2 separate regions of the Homo sapiens genome follow, and region 2 is linked to region 1. Evidence: promoter capture Hi-C in human tissues and cell types (Jung and others, 2019). All regions are on one chromosome and are shown on one strand. Each heading gives the region's core, a stretch centred on a gene start or on the middle of the fragment in contact. The rest is flanking DNA. Distances are from core to core; before and after follow the strand shown.

The links. The method cuts DNA at HindIII sites, captures the fragments that hold promoters and counts their contacts. A contact is called where the count stands out against the background at its distance.
Region 2: a contact is called between a fragment that was not itself captured here and the fragment with the promoter of EFCAB8 in region 1, in 2 of the 25 tissues and cell types used here (bladder and dorsolateral prefrontal cortex).

Annotation. Positions count from the first base shown.
Region 1 is chr20:32,857,357-32,860,370 of GRCh38, reverse strand. EFCAB8 (EF-hand calcium binding domain 8) reads right to left here and starts at 1,448. Exons shown (of 27, transcript NM_001143967.2): 1 at 1,365-1,448. LOC119746555 (a long non-coding RNA gene) reads right to left here. Exons shown (of 1, transcript NR_171378.1): 1 at 1,620-3,014. RefSeq lists an enhancer at 769-1,581. The HindIII fragment of the contact is 16,025 bases long and covers 1-3,014 here.
Region 2 is chr20:33,210,202-33,213,513 of GRCh38, reverse strand. It overlaps the pseudogene BPIFA4P. Among named protein-coding and RNA genes, the nearest start is that of BPIFA3, 5.5 kb to the left of the region's middle. The HindIII fragment of the contact is 4,421 bases long and covers 1-3,312 here.

The DNA.
Region 1 (3,014 bases), core at 199-2,698:
AGGAAACAGACAAACCCACATTACAGGATATTCTACAAAATAACTGGGTTTTTTTTTGCTTTTATTTTTGAGAGTCTCACTCTGTCACAGGCTGGAATGCAGTGGCTCAATCTCAGCTCACCGCAACCTCCACCTCCCAGATTCTGATGATTCTCATGCCTCAGCCTCCTCAGTAGCTGGGATTATAGGTGCACGCCACCATGCCCAGCTAACTTTCGTATTTTTAGTAGAAACAGGATTTCTCCATGTTGGCCAGGCTGGTCTCAAACTCCTTGGCCTCAAGTGCTTTCCGCCCGCCTTGGCTTCCCAAAGTGCTGGGATTACAGGCGTGAGTCACCGCGCCTGGCCAAAATAAAATGCCATGTAAACCAAAGAAAGGCTAAGGAACTGTTAGAGATGAAAGGTGACTCAAGAGACCCAACAACTAAAGGCAATGCACGATTCTGAATTGAATCCGATTGGGAAAAAACAAAAATGCTGCAAGGGCTGTTATTTGGTGAAATTATGTAAAATTTGAACATGGACTCTATATTATTAGATAGCATATTAATGTTTTCTGCTTTTGATAACTGTATTGTGGTTATGAGAATGTCCTTGTTTCAGGAAATGTACACTGAAAAGTATTTAGGGGTAAAAGGGCATGATGTCTGTAATTCTCAAATGGTTTAACAAGTAACATGTATAATAACACAAATGTGGCAAAATGTTCACAATTAGTCTATCTGGACAAAGGGAAGTTCTTTGTAGTAGTCTTACAACTATTTATATATTTTTAATTATTTCAAAACTAAATATTTTGTAAGATAAATGTCTTTCACCAGGAGAAAGTGGTTCTATGTATGTTCATGAACAGAGGTAAAACGCCAAATGGGAAAAAAAGTGCTGGTTGCTGCCAACAGAGACCACCCAAAAGAAAAGGGCAAAAGCAAGAGGGGAGAGGCCAAGACAAGTACCATTCCTCCAACTCTGAAGGGAAGGAAGGGAAGGCTGAGATGTAAAACTCGGTTGATATTTAGAATTGGAGAACAGGTCAGATCAGAAGTCACATCCATCTGCCTCAATCTATTCCCTAAAGTTGACCTGTCCGGAGCTGACGGAAGAGGGGCAGGGCAAGGCAGGTGGGAGAGTACCATCCAGAACAGGGGTGAGAATTCAGAGCAGCCACTAGGGGAACATGCTAGGGATGAGAGGGGAACGAGTGGTTTGTACGAATTTGTAGAGGCAGATGACTTAAGGATACATGCATTGAAAGCCAGCCAGGACACAGATAAGAGCTGCTCTCCAGCCTTGGAGGTCAGGCAGAGGTCTTCAGCAGAGGTATCCAATCTTTTGGAGAGCAACTTTCACCTAAAACCCTCACTCACCCTGACTCAATTTGATCTCCTCAGTTAATCTTGCTGGCAAAGTCTGGCAAAGTGCTAACACTTTCCAACTCCCATCTCAACAAAGACATTGGCAGCTGTTCCCAGTCCAAGACAGCTCCTTTATGAAGTCGAGATGGAACTCTGGGTCTGCTGGTCATATTTAGAACTAGGGAAATGAGACAGAATTCCGTATGAAGAACATAAATGAAGCATCAGAACCCGTCCCACAAACCATAATCACAGAACCATTTTTCATCCAATTTGAAACATTTCTTTTATTGAAGAAGTTGAACTTACAGCAGACAGTGAAAGGAGTTACAGCACTCCAGGACAAACACAGACATAAAATAATACATAAAACAAGTAGCGGGAAACTGGAAGATGCCAGGGAGTCCTCTTATAAAAGCAGGGTTCACCAAAACCAGAAGGCCAACTGGCTCCAGGACAGCGAAAGGCACAGTGGCTCCTCTGCTCCTCTGCCTTCTGCCCCATTTGAAATGGGGGACTTACAAATCCAGACTTCAGGGCAGGCCTAGACTTGATGCAGCCACTGCAATCTTGGTCCATGGTGCAATTTGGCAGACAAGTTGGTGAAAGGTAAGTTGTCTCCAGAGATTTCAATCAGGGACGTGGCTTCCAGATGTTAAAAGATACCCAGCTAAGTCACAAGGAAGTGGATGTTTTCAAATGCTAAGTGACCACCAAACAAAACATTCTCCCTGGGCCTTCACCACTCAGAGAACACCAACATACAAAAACAAAAGTCTGTTCCCATTTCATCAATAATGGAGTTTTAAGGATTTTGTCATAGTGTAGAATATTAAGAATGGATGAATAAAAAGTCAAAAAAGGTGCAGAGGTCCTATAAATCAGGGTTTATTAGACTAGATATTAATAAATTGGAAGGGTTTAAAAAAAAAAAGGCTGTTGGCCCTACATATGACAGTTTCCCATTGTTTCTTAGCTTAGTATATTTATTTTCCAACACAATGTTAGCAATTCTTACAGCAGTTCTTGCATTTTTCCAATAACATTTTTATTAATCAAATGGTATATATTTTTCACTATAACCTATTTTCACTGATTAATACATTTATCAGTATTTTAATGTGGCCTAAAATATGCTAAATTCTGTCACAATAAATATGTTTTTCCCTCCCTGGGGAGAAACACAAGTAAAAAAAGGAAAATATTAAGATGCATTCCACTTTTTAGTTAAGGAAAAGTTCAGAAAACTCCCATCTTTTTAAAAAAGAATGAAAATATGATCCTAAGTAACTCAGGTTAGAAAAACAGTAACAGAGCCAGGCGCAATGGCTCACGCCTATAATCCCAGCACTTTGGGAAGCTGAGGCAGGAGGATCACTTGAGCCCAGGAGTCTGAGATCAGCCCAGGCAACATAGTGAGACCATGTCTCTATTAAAAAAAAAAAAAAATTAAAGAGAGAAAAAAACAGTAATAATAAAACAAGTGGGGAGGAGGACATTTAGAAGAAAAATCTAGATAAACCTCTGCACAAAAATAATTTTGGAAAAAAGTTAGAAGTCCTACCTGAGATTAATTCAGGCGTCACTGGCTAATGCTAAGGGAATTCTGATTGGAAGGCAGCAACTCAGGGGCCCAAGGACCACATTAACAGATGCAATTAC
Region 2 (3,312 bases), core at 476-2,975, 350 kb before region 1:
AGGCAGGAACCTCCCTTGGCAGAACTCCGGGCCAAGCAGGCTTATGCACACCTGTGATCTCTAACGGCCAATTGGGGTGGCCACTTCCCCTCCTTGGGGCTCTAAGGAAATTCCAGGTCCCTAGCAAAAGGCAGAGGTCCCCAAACTCCAGGGAACAGCAGAGGAGGCAGAAGCATTAAATGCAGATTCCTGAATCTGATTTAGTGGGGGCTGGGGGGAGGTGCTGGGAGCTGCCTTTGGAATGAACACCCTAGAGAGATGATGCAGGGGGTTCAGTCCATACTTTGAGAGTTACTCTTCTAAGGAATGGAATTCATTATTCATCTAGTCATTCATTCATTCCATTCTTTTATATATATATAAAAGATATATATATATACACACACATATATATGTATATGTATATATATATACACACACACACACACACATATATATGTGTTTAACATACATATGCCTAACAACTGTACAGAACTAGGGGCTGGAACCTTAATCCAAAGGCGAATTTCCTTAAAATGGCAGGGGAAGAGAGAGTGGGGACCGTTTCTGAATGGCATATTGGGTTTCACAAAGGAAGAGTTGACCTTTTCTGGGTTCTGAGGGTAGCCTGGAGAGGGCAAAGGGAAAATGGAAATGCTGGAATTTCCAGGGGAGCATCACCGAATTTTGGAGGGAGAGATGGGACTTGTAAAAATGCAGATTCTTAGGTCACCTCTGATGAATTGAGTCAGGCTCTCTGAGGGGGATCCTGGGAATAAGCTTCTGGACAATTCTGATGCACACGGTGTGTGAAGATCACTTAGCTGAAATAATAACAGTGATACCAGCTAACAGTTATTGAGTGCTGACTGAGCTCCAGGGGCAAGCTAAGTGCTTTACCTGTAATGACTTATTGAATTCTCAACACAACCCTTTGCAGTAGGCACTGTTATTATTGGCCTCCTTTTGCAGAGGCACAGAAATGTTAAGTAAAATCCCCAAATCCACCCAGCTGGGGAGGGGTGGGGCTCAGATGGGAACCAGGTAGCCTGGCCTGCAGAAGGGAGCTCAGAGGAGCTGTTGCTCATTCCCCACCAACTGCTTCATCCCACACCCCATTCTGCTGCCCAACATGATCCTCAGCCCCCATTCCCCCAGGCACAAGCATTGCAAGGAGAGGCAGGAAGAATAATAAGGGCAGATGGATGTTGAGCCCTGACTCTGGAGACACTTGTCTAAGGACACACAGCTGATAATGTGGAGCTAGGATTTGAACTTGGGCTGCCTGGCTCTGATAGGCTCTACCTTGTTTCTGGATAAATTCACTTACAGCCCTTAACCTTCCCTCGCAGGGGTCTGCAAGCTTGTTCTGTCCGGCTGCATTTCCTCTTATATACTACAGAGGCCAATAAGATTCCGTGGAACACACATGGCAAATACCAACATTTTCAGTGAGTTGAACCACCAGATAGACTGAAGACTGCAGGTCTCACCATAACCATGAACACTCTGGACCACAAGGGGGCAGGAACCAACCTGTCAAGTCCCGGGGCTTACATAGCAGGAGTGTTCTCAGGAGGAAAGGAGCAAGGCAGGTCATTAAGGATAACCAGCCAGGCACAGCCTCACCTGCCCTTAAATGTCAGCCAGTAGGAAGAGGAAACCGGCATGGGTCCTTCTTTTAAAAATGCACATTCAACCTGTTTGATCATTAATTTTATTCTTCAGCCAACTTGGCTTCTCTTCTGCTTCCTGCTGCGTTTCTCAAAGGGACCAAACTTGCTTTCTCTCTTCTTCCATTTTCTGCTTTTGGATCCCAATCCCCCTTTTAGTAATTTTCTCCAACACATGTCACCCCATATTTGCTCATTTTGCTTTACCTGATCCTAAATTCTCGTGGTTGCTGGAGATAGCTGCAGCACTAAATTTCTTCACCCGGATCCTCTGGGAATTGGGGAGCTGTCTTTGGGAGAGGGATTGTGTGACTCTGAGGGTGACATTCTCCATGCTATTGTGCAGTGTGTGGCAGCTCCCAGGAGGGAGCCTTTATCAGGGAGTTGGCAGGTTTCACTAAGCCCCTCCATGTGCCAAGCAGTGAACAGGACAGATAAAAATCCAGCCCAGTGTTCAGCCCTGAGGTTGGAACAAGCTGAGGAGGCAGCACAAGAAAGCCAGTGTGACCAGAGCAAGTGAGACAAGGGGAGAGTGGTGGGGACGGGGTCAGGAACATGCATATGGACACAAACAGTGTGCCCACAGGCCCAGTGAGGACCCAGACTTTCATTCTAAGGCAGACGTAAGTTTGAGTCCTGACTCTCTCATTCTTAGAGGTGCAGCTTGCACACATCACTGCACCTCTTTGAGCCTCAGTTTTCTCACTTATTCAAGGGAAAACAACAGTTACTTCCTAGGTTTATCATGAGAATTAAATTAGAATAATACTTTGGAGAAGGAAGCCATATTGTAAAAAAAAAAAAAAAAAAAAAGAAAGAAAAAGAAAAGAAAAAAAAAATGATGGCCGGTTGCAGTGGCTCACATCTGTAATCCCAGCATTTTGGGAGGCTGAGGCAGGTGGATCACTTGAGTCCAGGAATTTAAGACCAGCCTGGCCAACATGGTGAAATCCCATCTCTACTAAAAATACAAAGATTTGCTGGGCATGGTGGCACACGCCTGTAGTCTGAGCTACTCAGGAGGCTGAGGCAGGAGAATTTCTTGAACCCGGAAGGCGGAGGTTGCAGTGAGCCGAGATCACACCACTGCACTCCAGCCTGGATGACAGAGCAAAACTCCATCTTAAAAAATGACCAGAGGTTGAAGGTGAGGAAGGAGAGGCAGTGAATAGCAGCATATGTTTTGGGAAGTTTGGTGATACAGGGAAGAAAAATGGAGTTACCAGGGCCAGGATAAGGTTTCTCCCATAAGTCACAACTTTGTAGGCTGTTCCTGCCTGAGGGCGCTGGGAAGATGAGACCAACATTCCCACTGCACAGTGATGAGACTGTGGCCAAGAGGATGGAGCCACTCAAGGTCAAAAAATCAGTTCAGAAAACATCCCAGACAAGACAGGAAACCTTTTTAAAATTTTAATTAGCCTTTGGGAAACATCATACCAGAGTGTTCAGATGTTTATGAGATAATGGATAAATCAACCCAAGTATCCTCCCCTGCTTTTCATACTTTTGTTATCATGACCAGACCCACCATCATCTCTGGCCACGTTGCCCCCATCCACATGGCGCTGTGGAAGCTGGACAGTTTGCAGTTCAGAGCTGCTAAAAATTTATTGTGGGAAGATTACAGGGAATCAGCACATGGGTTCTGGTGAGGATT